Linked DNA regions of Homo sapiens: regions 1 and 2 are each linked to region 3. The links are contacts of gene promoters, found by promoter capture Hi-C in blood cells and fetal thymus (Javierre and others, 2016). All regions are on one chromosome and are shown on one strand. The core of a region is centred on a gene start or on the middle of the fragment in contact, and the rest is flanking DNA. Distances in the headings are between cores, read along the strand shown.

The links. The method cuts DNA at HindIII sites, captures the fragments that hold promoters and counts their contacts. A CHiCAGO score of 5 or more calls a contact.
Region 1: a contact is called between a fragment that was not itself captured here and the fragment with the promoter of TIMM22 in region 3, in 6 of 17 cell types (naive CD4 T cells, naive CD8 T cells, non-activated CD4 T cells and 3 more). The highest score is 8.5, in naive CD4 T cells.
Region 2: a contact is called between a fragment that was not itself captured here and the fragment with the promoter of TIMM22 in region 3, in 14 of 17 cell types (naive CD4 T cells, naive CD8 T cells, endothelial precursors and 11 more). The highest score is 15.0, in naive CD4 T cells.

What each region holds. Positions count from the first base shown.
Region 1 is chr17:753,492-757,820 of GRCh38, reverse strand. It overlaps a transcript of GEMIN4 not described here and the pseudogene DBIL5P. Among named protein-coding and RNA genes, the nearest start is that of GEMIN4, 3.4 kb to the right of the region's middle. The HindIII fragment of the contact is 2,801 bases long and covers 1-2,777 here.
Region 2 is chr17:774,955-779,463 of GRCh38, reverse strand. GLOD4 (glyoxalase domain containing 4) reads left to right here. Exons shown (of 9, transcript NM_016080.4): 2 at 720-769; 3 at 2,476-2,596; 4 at 3,545-3,689. Among named protein-coding and RNA genes, the nearest start is that of GLOD4, 5.1 kb to the left of the region's middle. The HindIII fragment of the contact is 464 bases long and covers 2,117-2,580 here.
Region 3 is chr17:995,331-999,544 of GRCh38, reverse strand. TIMM22 (translocase of inner mitochondrial membrane 22) reads right to left here and starts at 2,416. Exons shown (of 4, transcript NM_013337.4): 1 at 2,165-2,416; 2 at 570-766; 3 at 1-33. The coding sequence starts at 2,402. RefSeq lists an enhancer at 1,703-2,394. The HindIII fragment of the contact is 11,380 bases long and covers 1-4,214 here.

The DNA of each region.
Region 1 (4,329 bases), core at 128-2,627, 240 kb after region 3:
AATTCTAAACCAAAAAAGAGTAATTTTTAAAAATTATTATTTAGGCCGGGCGCGGCGGCTCAAGCCTATAATGCCAGCACGTTGGGAGGCTGAGGCAGGCGGATCACCTGAGGTCGGGAGCTCGAGACCAGCCTGACCAACACGGAGAAACCCCATCTCTACTAAAAATACAAAATTAGATGGGTGTGGTGGTACCTGCCTGTAATCCCAGCTACTCAGGAGGCCAAGGCAGGAGAATCCCTTGAACCTGGGAGGCGGAGGTCGCGGTGAAGCGAGATCACGCTGTCGCACTCCAGCTGGGCACCAAGAGCGAAACTCCGTCTCAAAAAAAAAAAAATTATTTAGACGCCCATTAGATCCGCAAAAACTAATTTTAAACAAAAGTGATTAGTTTCCCACATCTGGGGGATATGATCAATTAGAAAATGGCATGAGGAAGATAGCTTTGCCCAAGCTGGTGTTTCATTTTTGGTTTTTGAGACATTGCTCTATCACGCAGGGTGGAGTGCAGTGGGGCACCATCGTGGCTTTCTGCAGCCTTGACCTCTGGGGCTCAAGAGATCCTCCCACCTCAGCCTCCCGAATGGCTGGGCCCACAGCCACGTGCCACCACACCCAGCCAACGTTTTGATCTTTTGTAGCGACCGTCTCACTGCGTTGTTCAGGCTGCAAGCTGTTGTTTCAAACAGATGAAGTTGGAAAGTTCTTCAGCTTCTCCAGAGTTGTTTTTTTGAATCAAGGGGTTGTGGAGCCTACATGTAAATACAAGTGTGCCTTGAGTTAAATCTCCGGGAAGACTTAGAACGGCCGTGTTGCCAGAGCTCTCCTAGTTAGCCTGCAGGACTGTCTGAAGTCCGTGTCCGTCTGACATGTTACCGGAATTAACAAACCTAGGGACGGTGAGTGCTCCTTCATGTGGCTTTCTGGCTCTCTCACCTGCCACTCAGTGCCGCTGTGACTTAGCAGCCAGAGTTTTCAGGAGACCTCCAACGTGTCCGTTGAAATTCAGGGTAAGAGTTGAGAAGTTTCCCTGTTTGTTCTAAGAGTTCTTACCCCAACCTCAGGGGAAATCAATAGTAAATTTACTCTGACTTCAATGATAATAAAGAAGTGCCCTTGCCTCATCCTCTTTATATAAAGCAATAGAGCCACATGGTTCAAAAATGAAAACAATATGAAAAGGTATTGTAAACCGGGTAAGTGTCTGAGACAAGTCTCGCCCATTTAGAGGTTTATTTTGCCAAGGCTGAGGATGTGCCTGAGACACAACCACAGATCTGTGGCCCCCGCACACTTTCCAGAGAGGATTTTTAGGGCCTCAGTATGTGGGATATGACGACGTTTCTCTTCAAATAATCTGATCAATCTTTTATTCTTTAATTCATAGCGCCCCGCCCCCTTTTTCTCCTTTTCCCTTTTTGCCTTTGTGAGATGCCCAGGCACGCCACAGCACCAGGCGTTATCAGTACCAGCTCACATTCCTTTCCTTATTTGGAAAGAGGACTAACTTTCTAGCTCATTACAGACACCCCTTCCCCTTCCTCTCCGCTTTCTTTTACGGGCCCACCCTATCTAAAAAAATCAAATGTTTAGCCAAGCGCGATTAGTTTAGATTGTACGACCTGACCCCGGCCAATGGGGAAAGGGTAGAGGGGCAGGACTTGTGTCAGGAACAAAGGCTCTCGTGCCCCTTTGTTCAGGTGTGCTCTCATGACAACTGGCCAAGGAGGCACCCCTCTGCACAGAAGTAAAATTGCTTTGCTAAGAATCCTTTGTTCGAGTGTTCTATTTCCTTAGGATTTTGAGCATTATTCCTAACAAGTATTTAAAAGGGAAAGAGCAGGAAGGGAGGGAAGAGGGAAAGGAAAAATACAGGAGGGTAGGTAGGGAGATAAGTGGTTACATTCTTATTAGGCTTTGATCAGCGCTCACCAAATCTACATGTCACAGTGAAAGGAGGGGGTAGAGGAACAGTCAGTTTTGCATTCAGCTCAGTAAATCTACATTTAGCACTCACCAAATCTACATGTTACAGTGAAAGGAGCAGGCAGAGGAACAGTCAGTTTTGCATTCAGCTCAGTAAATCTACATTTAGTGCTCACCAAATCTACATGTTACAGTGAAAGGAGCGGGCAGAGGAACAGTTACGCATTCAGCTCAGTAAGTCTACATTTAGCACTCACCAAATCTACATGTTACAGTGAAAGGAGCAGGCAGAGGAACAGTCAGTTTTGCATTCAGCTCAGTAAATCTACATTTAGCGCTCACCAACTCTACATGTTACAGTGAAAGGAGCGGGCAGAGGAACACTCAGTTATGCATTCAGCTCAGTAAATCTACATTTAGTGCTCACCAAATCTACATGTTACAGTGAAAGGAGCGGGCAGACGAACAGTCAGTTATGCATTCAGCTCAGTAAATCTACATTTAGCGCTCACCAAATCTACATGTTACAGTGAAAGGAGCGGGCAGAGGAACAGTTATGCATTCAGCTCAGTAAATCTACATTTACTGCTCACCAAATCTATATGTTACAGTGAAAGCAGCAGGCAGAGGAACAGTTATGCATTCAGCTCAGTACATCTATGTTTTGTCTCGGCTGGTGAGGGATGGTTTCTGGTGTTGTCTTTGTCCCTTACCTATGAAGATAAGCTGTTAATTTATATTGTCAGGTGAGGGAGACCACCTGGGGAGATATGTGGCCTTCTGTCTTGTAGCTTATCTGTTTAGGAACAAAAGGAAGTTTTTTGCATATTCCATGACTCAATTTCCAAGCTTAACTTTTCCTTTTCGCTTAGTGAATTTGGTCCCAAGATTTTATTTTCCTTTCACAGTATACCCCATGCCCATCAATCCCATTCCCCCTGCATCCTATAGGTAACCTCTTCTTAAGCAAATACAAATAGATAAATCCTTATTTTCTGTTTTTTTTTTTAAAACTTTATTTTACTGTTACTTTCTGCTGTCCTAATTATGGCACATTTTTACTTTCTAGGTTCTGTGATTTACAGAGTGGTCTGGCTATGTGGACAGCTTCTAAATTGTCACCACATTTTGGAGCAAGATGTATTATTTTTACAATTAATTTACATTTAACATGAATCATGATCCTAAGTGCATCAGAATGTCTTCATAACATTCGCCAAAGAAGAGAGGGCAGCACTGCTGTTCTACAGTGTGGCTCTCACCTGGTCCACAGTTACCAGAAATAGTTCTTTCGTTGCTGTGATGTCCTGGGTGGGCTTCATTCTTTAGTAATGTACTTTGTCTACAGCAACTTCCTGCAACTATGTGAACAGATCTTGAAGACACACAGTGAGGTTTGGTTTCCTTTGTCCTCTTAAGTCTTTATGGTTGTTGCTTCTATTGTTTATTGGTCCCAGTGAGAACTGCAGCTGACCTGATGTCATGATCTGTGAAGATAGTTTCTATTAAAGAAGAAGTACCAGGAAATCCCATATGCCACCGTAGACCTGCCTTTCTGGATACCATTTACTACTCCATACTCCAGCCGCCATGCACAATGGTTGTGTATGAGGCTCCTGTGATCATTAACAGGAGTAGAAGCTGGGCTCAGACACTCTGGCACTTGCATAGGTCAAGGGGTGTGTTGTGCTCTTGCAACAAATCCCACATAGACATCCATATGCATATTGTCCCACCGTCCCCTAAGCAGAAACCAGGGTTAAGTACAGAATAGTCCCGGGAACATTTTGGTTGCCCGGCCTTAGGTGAGCCTTTCTGGGGCTGGGATTTTGACACCATCTGCTCCATTGTTTCTAAACTGCTGTGTTCTGGCGCATCAATTGTTTCATCACATTATCATCACGGAAAGCTTGGTCTCCCTCAAAACATGAACCGGGTAGGCCCTGTGTTCCAGTGGGGGCTTTTGGACTTGACTTTAGTGTTTAGGAGGACAGAGTCCCTCTCCCCTCTGTGGTGCTGGGGTATTAGTAAATCAGCCTTGAAGAGATAAGGGGCTGGGGCCTCAACCTCCCAAGAGGCTGTCACTGGAGAATGGTCTCCTGCCCTCAGATCTTGGGCATTTCCACAGCACACTGTCCCCCTCGTCCTTCCAAATACCTACATACGCTCTTGTAATAGGAGAGCTGGGAACTCCACCCAAAACCATACAAAAAGTTAGTCTGTGTATTTGGACGCCTCCCCAGCACTCAGTCACCGAGTTTCTCCTTTCCAACAGCAGTCACTCTCATGCAGTTTAAGTGATTTATTGATGTCTCGGCTAAGCTTGCGACAGTTTCAGGACATTTCAGCCATCAAGGTCTAAGAAGCCCTTTCCATTCCCGAGGAGCCCTCAGCCAGCCTCCT
Region 2 (4,509 bases), core at 1,099-3,598, 220 kb after region 3:
GAGATGGGGTTTCACTGTGTTGGCTAGGCTGGTCTCGAACTCCCGACCTCAGGTGATCTGCCCACCTCAGCCTCCCAAAGTGCTGGGATTACAGGCGTGAGCCACGATGCCCATCTTTTTTTTTTTTTTTTTTTTTTTTTTTTTAATTTGAGATGGAATTTTGCTCTTGTCACCCAGGCTGTAGTGCAGGGGCACGATCTCGGCTCACTGCAACCTCCATCTCATGGTCCAAGTGATTCTCCTGCCTCAACCTCCTGAGTAGCTGGGATCACAAGCACACGCCACCACGCCTGGCTAATTTTTGTATTTTTAGTTGAGACGGGGTTTCACTATGTTTGCCAGGTTGATCTTGAACTCCTGACCTCAGGCAGTCCACCCACCTTGATCTCCCAAAGTGCTGGTATTATAGGCGTGAGTCACTGTGCCCGGCCCAAATCAGACTTCTTTAATGCTGAAGGCCACACTTTTTCCCACTGCATAGCACTGCTTACCAATCTAAATAGATTTCACAACTGATTTGGTAGCCTGACCCTTGGTGTCAAGCTGTTCGTCCTTCCACTGCTTCTATCCTGGGAGAAGTGTAAAGCTCATTTGCTTTTGTTCTTTTACAAGTAAAGCTTATAAATGATAATGTTTGTGTTTTGACATTTTAGTCTGTGCTAAAGACGCTGTGAGCAGTACTAGCAACACTTCACAATTTATTCTAAATCTCACACCAGGTTCTGCGGCATGAGGAATTTGAAGAAGGCTGCAAAGCTGCCTGTAATGGGTATGATACCTTGTTTCTTAAAATCTCCTTTAGGCTCTGACTACACCCGGATAACAGAAGACAGTTTCTCAAAGTGAGTATAAAGCAGTGGAATTAATTAAGGAGGCAGTAAATTAGGGAGGCAACTTCAGGAGCGTCGGGAACACATACTGTTTCTCTGCACTCTCATGAGTATAAAGCAGTGGAATTAATTAAGAAGGCAGTAAATTAGGGAGGCAACTTCAGGAGCGTCGGGAACACATTTCTCTGCACTCTCATACAACACCTGTGGGACACAAAGGGATTCTCCAGCTCTCTAACACCAGCCGGCTGTCCTGTTATTTAATTGATTCTGACTCTACCTGGAGTTAATGTCAGATCCTGCAAGTTAAGGGCTCAGTCCCAGAAGATTTTCCGCCACGTCAGGCGCCGGTCACAGTCTGGATCTTCAGGATTTCCGATGACCAACTACAAGTCAGGGCTCCCGCTCCTGCTTCCTTGGGTTTGATAGTCTGCTACAGTGGCTCATGGAACTAAGGGAAACGCTGGAAACACTTACTTACATTTACTGGTTTATCATAAAGAGTACGAGTCAGAAATGGCTGGACAGAGGAGATACACAGGGCAGGGCATGGGGAGTGGGTGGCAGAGCTTCCATGCTCTTCTGGGCAGGCTCCAATCCAGCACCTCCCTACGTTCAGCATCCCAGAAGCTCATGAGTCTCATTGTTCAAGCCTAATAGAGCCCAGTCTCCATCCCTTTCCTTCCCAGAGGTTGGTGGATGGGACTGAAAGTTCAGTCCTCTAATCATTTGTCTTTCTGGTGACCAGCCCCATCCTGAGTCTATGTAGAGGCCCCACTCTAAGTCACTTCATTAGCATAAACTCAGGTGTGACTGAAAGGGGCTCATTATGAATATAACAAAAGATATTCCTATCAGGAAATTCCAGAGGTTTTGGGAGCTCTGAGACAGGAACCAGGGACAATGACCAGATATGTTTCATATTATGCCACAAATGCAAATAAGTACATGCTCTAGATGAAGCAGCGGCTTTCCAGTATCTTTTTTTTTTTGAGACAGAATCTCACTTTGTCACCCAGGTGGGAGTGCGGGGTCATTATCCTGGCTCACTGCAACCTCTGTCTTCTGAGTTCAAGCAATTCTCCTCCCTCAGCCTCCCTAGTACGTGGGACTATGGGCATGTGCCACCATGCCCAGCTAATTTTTGTATTTTTAGTAGAGACGGGGTTTCACCATGTTGGCCAGGCTGGTCTCGAACTCCTGACCTCAGGTGATCCTCCCGCCTCGGCCTCCCAAAGTGCTGGGATTACAGGCCTGAGCCACCACGCCCGTCCATCTCTTAAGCTTAGTACCGTGACAAGTTGGAACAGTCCAAGGCCTATTAGGAATTTCATGCTTGTTGATTGATAGTCAAGGAAATAACAGGTCAGTTGGAGAACTGTCTTTAGGATTCTGTTCCTTGCTTTACAGAAAAGGTGAACAAATCTTTCCTTCAGGTAGATGCTGGATAGTCTTTGGAGCTTGTAGTAGGGTCCCATGAGCACTGCCCACAGCTGCTTTCTGTACCATCTGAGGTCATCTCATCCTTAAGAGAACTTTTAGGACCAGACAGGAATGCTCATCTCTCTGTGCCCAGTAGTTCTCTGGGGGTGGCCTGAGGCTGACTTGTCTGTAGTCACTGAGTTCATTTACTTTTATTTTCTAGGCCTTATGATGGGAAATGGAGTAAAACAATGGTGGGATTTGGGCCTGAGGATGATCATTTTGTCGCAGAACTGACTTACAATTATGGCGTCGGAGACTACAAGCTTGGCAATGACTTTATGGTAAATACCGTTTTTTTCTAGCAGAGTTTTGGCTGGGGGTAGGTGGCTGGTTGTAAATTTGAGTAGAGTGCCAAGGGTGTGTGTGAGTGAAGAGATAACATTTGAGCAGAGACTCAAAAGAGGTCAGGGAGTTAGCCACGTGGATATCTGGGGGATGCGCGTTCCAGGCAGAGAATATTCTGGCAAGAGCCGTCAGGTAACATCTGGCGTGTTCGAGGAGGTGTAAGGAAGCCAGTGTGGCTGGAATAGAGAACGAGAGGGGAGCGTGGTAAGAGATGGGGTCGGCAGTGCCATGGGGTAAGACTGCAGGGGGCCTCCTAGGCCGTAAGTCACCGAGTGAAATGAGCCATTGGCGGACTTTGAGCAAAGGGAAAACAAGGCTGGCTGCAGTCTGGGGGTGGACTATAGGATGCGTTTTGGAAAGTTTACTTTGGCTGCAGAGTGGGTAATGGATTTACAAGACTGGAGGCAGAGAGGCCATTATAATAAACCGAGCCAGAAACAAGGCTGGTCTTCTCAAAGCACACGTGTACATTTCTAGGCACTTTGATTAAATGTAAGGAAACCTTGATAGTTTGCTTATTTTTGTTTTGTTTGTTAAAAAAGCAAGAACAGGTCACCTTAAATAGGTAGCTAGCTGGCAGACCCAGGTAACATCAAGATTTCTGTGGCTAGATCTTTAGAATTAGAAGACGTTATCTTTGGTGTTAAATGAATCAGACTTCACTGGCATTTCAATTTCTGTCCTATTATTCACAAAGGTCTGAATGTTTGTGGGATAAAACATTGAAAACCTGTTTTTAAATCACTAGAAGAAAATGTTGGATGCCAGTTAAATCTTAGGTGATTTTACCTAAAGGCAGTAGGCAATAGGGGTTGGGCTCATTGTCTTGTTCTGTAAAATATCTGTTGTGATCATGTACTTGGATGTACTGTTGTTTGTTGTAGGGAATCACGCTCGCTTCTAGCCAGGCTGTCAGCAACGCCAGGAAGCTGGAGTGGCCACTGACGGAAGTTGCAGAAGGTGTTTTTGAAACCGAGGCCCCGGGAGGATATAAGTTCTATTTGCAGAATCGCAGTCTGCCTCAGTCAGGTAATTATACCAGAACCAGTAAAAGCCTCTGTCTAAAGGCATCTTTGGTGAAAGGAGAGTGAGGGCTGCCTGTCTTTTTTTTGTAGAGTCTGTGTTCACGTGACGTGTCTTCCCCAGCCAGTGCTTTTACCTGTTATCGGAGAGACTACATTCTCATATCAGAACTTAAATACATAGCAGTAGGGGATCTAGACTAGTTCTGTTCTACTGGTAATGTAGTGATTTATGATTCTTTCATCTGTAAATAACAGAAAACCCAACTACTTTGAACAGTTATAGAATCTTTTAGCTCACAGAGCAGGCATTCTATAGGTGGGAAAGATTTCAAGGTTAGATGATTCACCAGCTCCCCACATTTTCTCTTTCTACGTTCTGTTGTTCTCTGCGGGTACCTCTCCTAGAACTAGTCCCCTCAAGGTTGCAGGAGAGCTGCCAGGAGCAGGTGGGGCCACATGCTCCCACAATCCCATCTGGTAGGAGAGGAGATGCTGACTTCTTTTTGCTTTTTTTTTTTGAGACTCTGTCAGTCCGGCTGGAGTGTACTGGCATGATCTCTGCTCACTGCAACCTCTGCCTCCCGGGTTCAAGCAATTCTCCTTCCTCAGCCTCCCAAGTAGCTGGGATTATAGGCGCCTGCCACCACGCTCAGCTTTTTTTTTTTTTTTTTTAGTATTTTTATTAACTTTTAAAAATTATTTGTTTTTTGAGACGGAGTCTTGCTCTGTCGCCCAGGCTAGAGTGCAGTGCTGCAATCTCGGCTCACTTGCAACCTCCGCCTCCCAGGTTCAAGTGATTCTCCTGCCTCAGCCTCTCCAGTAGC
Region 3 (4,214 bases), core at 1,167-3,666:
GACACTGTTCTTCCAGTCTGATGTTCCCCGGTACTGTGGGCAGGGAAGTACACGTTAGAGCCAAAGAAACAAGCCAAGGCAGACCATTAAGGAGGAATACACAGGGTTGCTCGTTAGCTCATTCAGTCCCTACCCAAAGGAAACCTAATCTTTCTTGAAAATATAGTTCCTAAGTATACAGCGTGTATATATATATATATATATATATATATATATATATAGTATGCGTTCATAGATGCTTCCTGCAGGTGGCACCAGAGTGCTGAAACCAAGCCCAGCATTTGGAATGTAATCAAAATTTCTTCAAGGGGCTCTCCAATAAGTCTCGTTTAAAATCATTAGCTAACTTCTAGCCTACAAAAAGTAAAAAATAATGCAAGCCCATACTGTAAACACACACAAAGTCTGCCACAGGGACTATTTTATGGAAGTTCAACCTAGAATGTATCTGATGCTTCTGATTTGCTTTCTAGTAACAACTTTCAAATGACTTTTAAAGAGCAATTTCTCTTTAAAAGTAATGAAATGGTGGCCCCAGCAAGGATTTCTTAGAAGGCAGAGACACTTACAGATTCTATCAAACACTCAGTACAAGAAAACATGGCTCCCACAATGGCGAAATTTTTGGCATAGGACATTCCTCTCTGCCCCATGTCTTTCAGCACTTCTTTTGCAGTCGGTGTACGGTAAGGATCCTTAGGGTCAAAGCCCACGTTGGTATCGATGCCAGCGGTAAACACCCCAAATGCACCTCCTAAGACAAATCCTAGAAGCAAACACAGAGATGAAGGTGTCTTTGGCATGTTTTCTGCATTACTCTATTGGGATCATCCTGGAAGGGACCATGCTTTTGGATGACCACCGGTGCAGAGGACACCCCCCTCTTGCCACTCAAACTCTCCACTTGCCTGGAGACTTGCAATCCAGGGTCTATGTTACTGACATCATCTTCTCCGTCTCTAAGATTTCTTCCTCCTGTCATTCCCTAACATTTCTCAAGATTCCATCTTTAACCCTCTATTCTCTCTACATTCTCTCATATGTAAACCAGCCACCCTCAACTTCAGCTATCAACTTTGCAAATCACTCTCTTGGCCACTGTGACATTCACAGTAATGCTTTACTGAGCACATGCCAGTATGCCACAGCCTCATTCATTCTTCACAATAATCCAGTGAGACAGATGCTATTAGCCTCTCCTTTCTATAAACTGAGGCTCAGAGAGGTTAAGCAACTTCTCCCAAGGCCACACAGCTACCTAATGGCAAATCCCACACTGCTGCCACATCTGTCCTTCCTGAGCCGGCTGGACATGTCCAGATGGATGCCCTCTCATGACCTCATGGTCAATATGAGTTTAATAAAATCATGGGCACCTCCCCTTCAACTTAAGGGAAAAACAGAAGGACAAGTGCAGACTTCGTCTCTCCTTGCTCGGGGCTGTCTAGTCACAATGGTCTTTCAGTTTTTCAAACCTCAAACAACTGCTGCCCTAGAGTCGTCTGCATGTGCATTTCCATATGTCTGCATCCTTCCTCTGCAGTGTTCCTGCTCAACATTCTTCTCCACATAGTATAATACAGGCCCCATGAAGACCAGGCTCTTGTCTCTTTCACCTGGCACGTGATATTGCTTAGGAACAATTTGTTGAAAGAATTATTTAAGAGAATGAATTTAAGGGAATGAACGGATGAATGAAGTCACCCACGTAATAACTTTTTGTTGTTGTTTTTGAGACGGAGTCTCGCTCTGTCGCCCAGGCTGGAGAGCAGTGGCACATCTCGGCTCACTGCAAGCTCCGCCTCCTGGGTTCAAGCGATTCTCCTGCCTCAACCTCCCGAATAGCTGGGACTACAGGCGCCCACCACCACGTCCAGCTAATTTTTTGTATTTTTAGTAGAGACGGGGTTTCACCGTGTTAGCCAGGATGTCATGTAATAACTTTCAGGCCCCAACCACAGCACCGATTCTCTAACCCAATTTTCATCAGGAAAGCCGGCCTGAGGGGGCAGGAGAGGTGACGCCCGATTCACGAACGAGGCGAGGGTGTGGTCAAGGTCAAGGCCCGCAGTCCCTCGCCTCCCAGGCGCGTGGTCTTCTCGGCAGAGATCCCCACTGCCGTCCAGGCCCTCAGCCTCCCAAGGGTCCCATCGCCCGGCCTCACCTCCCACGCAGGCCAGCGCAGCCTTGAAAGCGCAGCTTTCCATCGCCTTCTCGATCATCTTCTGCTCCTCACTCTTGGCTGGACTTGGGATCCCGCCCAGGCTCCCAGGCTCCAGGAGCCGGGGCTGACGCTTGTCACCCACCAGGTACTGCAGGAGCAGGCTGTACTGCAGCGGAGCTTCGGCGGAACCCGCTGTCTCAGGGGCCGAGCCTCCGGCATTGGGGGCGGCCGCCGCCATGACAGTCGCTGCCCAAGCAACCCTCGCGTCCTTCTCCCCGCAGCAGATTCGACAAGCGTCACGTTGCGGGCCCTGAGACTAGCCACTGTGATGCAACGGCAGATTCGCCGCAGGAGGAAGCCGCGGCCGCAACGCTCCTGGTGCGCACACCAGCGAGACCGCTATCATGTTTCCAAAAAGAAAGCCTCTTGTGAAAATGGAATTGGGCTTGGACAGCTTTCCCCATGTCACAGACAAACGAGATTCAGATTCACCAGAAAGCGCCCTCACGGTCGGGGCTGCAGCGCGGTGAGTACCGGGATTTGTAGTTCTAATCCGACACCCAACTACATTTCCCAGGAAGCGTTGCGCGTGCTCTCGCGCCTCGGCCCCGCGCGGGGCTCTTACGAGCTCCTGAGGGGAGCGAGGAGTGGCCGCGCGCTCCGGGGCTGCCGTGCTCCGGATCGCCGGGAGGGGACGCGCGAGCATTGTCGCTGCCCTTTCCACCTCGTGCTGTCATCGGGCGGTGAGGCGTTAAATCCCGTGGTCCCGGAAGGTGCGGTGAGAGGTGGATGCTTTGTAGATAAGCGTGAACTTGTGCTGTAAATGCACGGACCGGGCGCGGGGGCTCACGCCTGTCATCCAGCACTGTGGGAGGCCGAGGCCGGTGGATCACGAGGTCAGGAGTTCGAGACCAGTCTGACAAACATGGTGAAACCCCATCTCTACTAAAAATTAAAAAAATAAAAAATAAAAAAATTAGCTGGGCATGGTGGTGCACGCCTGTATTCTCAGCTACTTAGGAGGCTGAAGCAGGAAACCCCGTCTCTACTAAAAATATAAAAATTAGCCAGGTGGCGGCAGGCGCCTGTAATCTCAGTTACTCGGGAGGCTGAGACAGGAGAATCTCTTAAACCCGGGAGGTGGAGGTTGCAGTGAGCCAAGATCGCACCATCGCACTCCAGCCTGGGCGACAAGAGCAAGACTCCGTCTCAAAAAAAAAAAAAAAAAAAAAAAAATCCTAACTGACAGCATTTGCTGACTTGTGTGGTGTTAATATCCCCATCATGGCTGATTTCAAACTACCAAGCGAGGTCATCAGTCAGAATTGGGAAGACGTACAGCAGCATGTGGTTACATGGTGTTTCTATCACACAGATACAATCTATGGAAATAACCTCAACAGCATAGATAGGAGTACAGTGTAGTAAAATTTTTAGGAGGGGATGAGTTTTGAGCACATATTACCTATTTTTAGTGTAATTTATTATAAATGTATAGAATGTAATTTTTAATAATAACTGTGCTTAACAACCAGCTCAAAAACTCCTGATAATTTGTTGCCTTACTTTTTAAAATTACTCTTTTGAGACAGAGTCTTGCTCTGTCACCCAGGTTGGAGTGCAGTGGTGCAATCTCCGCTCACTGCAACCTGCACCTCCCGGGTTTGAGCGATTCTCCTGCCTCAGCCTCCCGACTAGCTGGGATTACAGGCACATGCCACCATGCCCGGCTAATTTTTGTATTTTTAGTAGAGACAAGGTTTCACCATGTTGGCCAGGCTGGTCTCAAACTCCTGACCTCAGGTGACCCACCCACCTCGGCCTCCCAAAGTGCTTGGATTCCAGGCGTGAGTCACTGCGCCCGGCCAGTTAGGGCCTTTTTGTTATTGTTGTTAAACATTTACCATTATACCACTGCACTGCAAGCATATTTTGGGAACCAAGAACACTTCCTCCTCTTTGAGGAAACCAGAATTGGGGCCTGGAGGCAGAGAAATTGGGAATGGATTTCTGGTCATATCCAGGAAAATCCTAGGGGATGTTGGAGAGA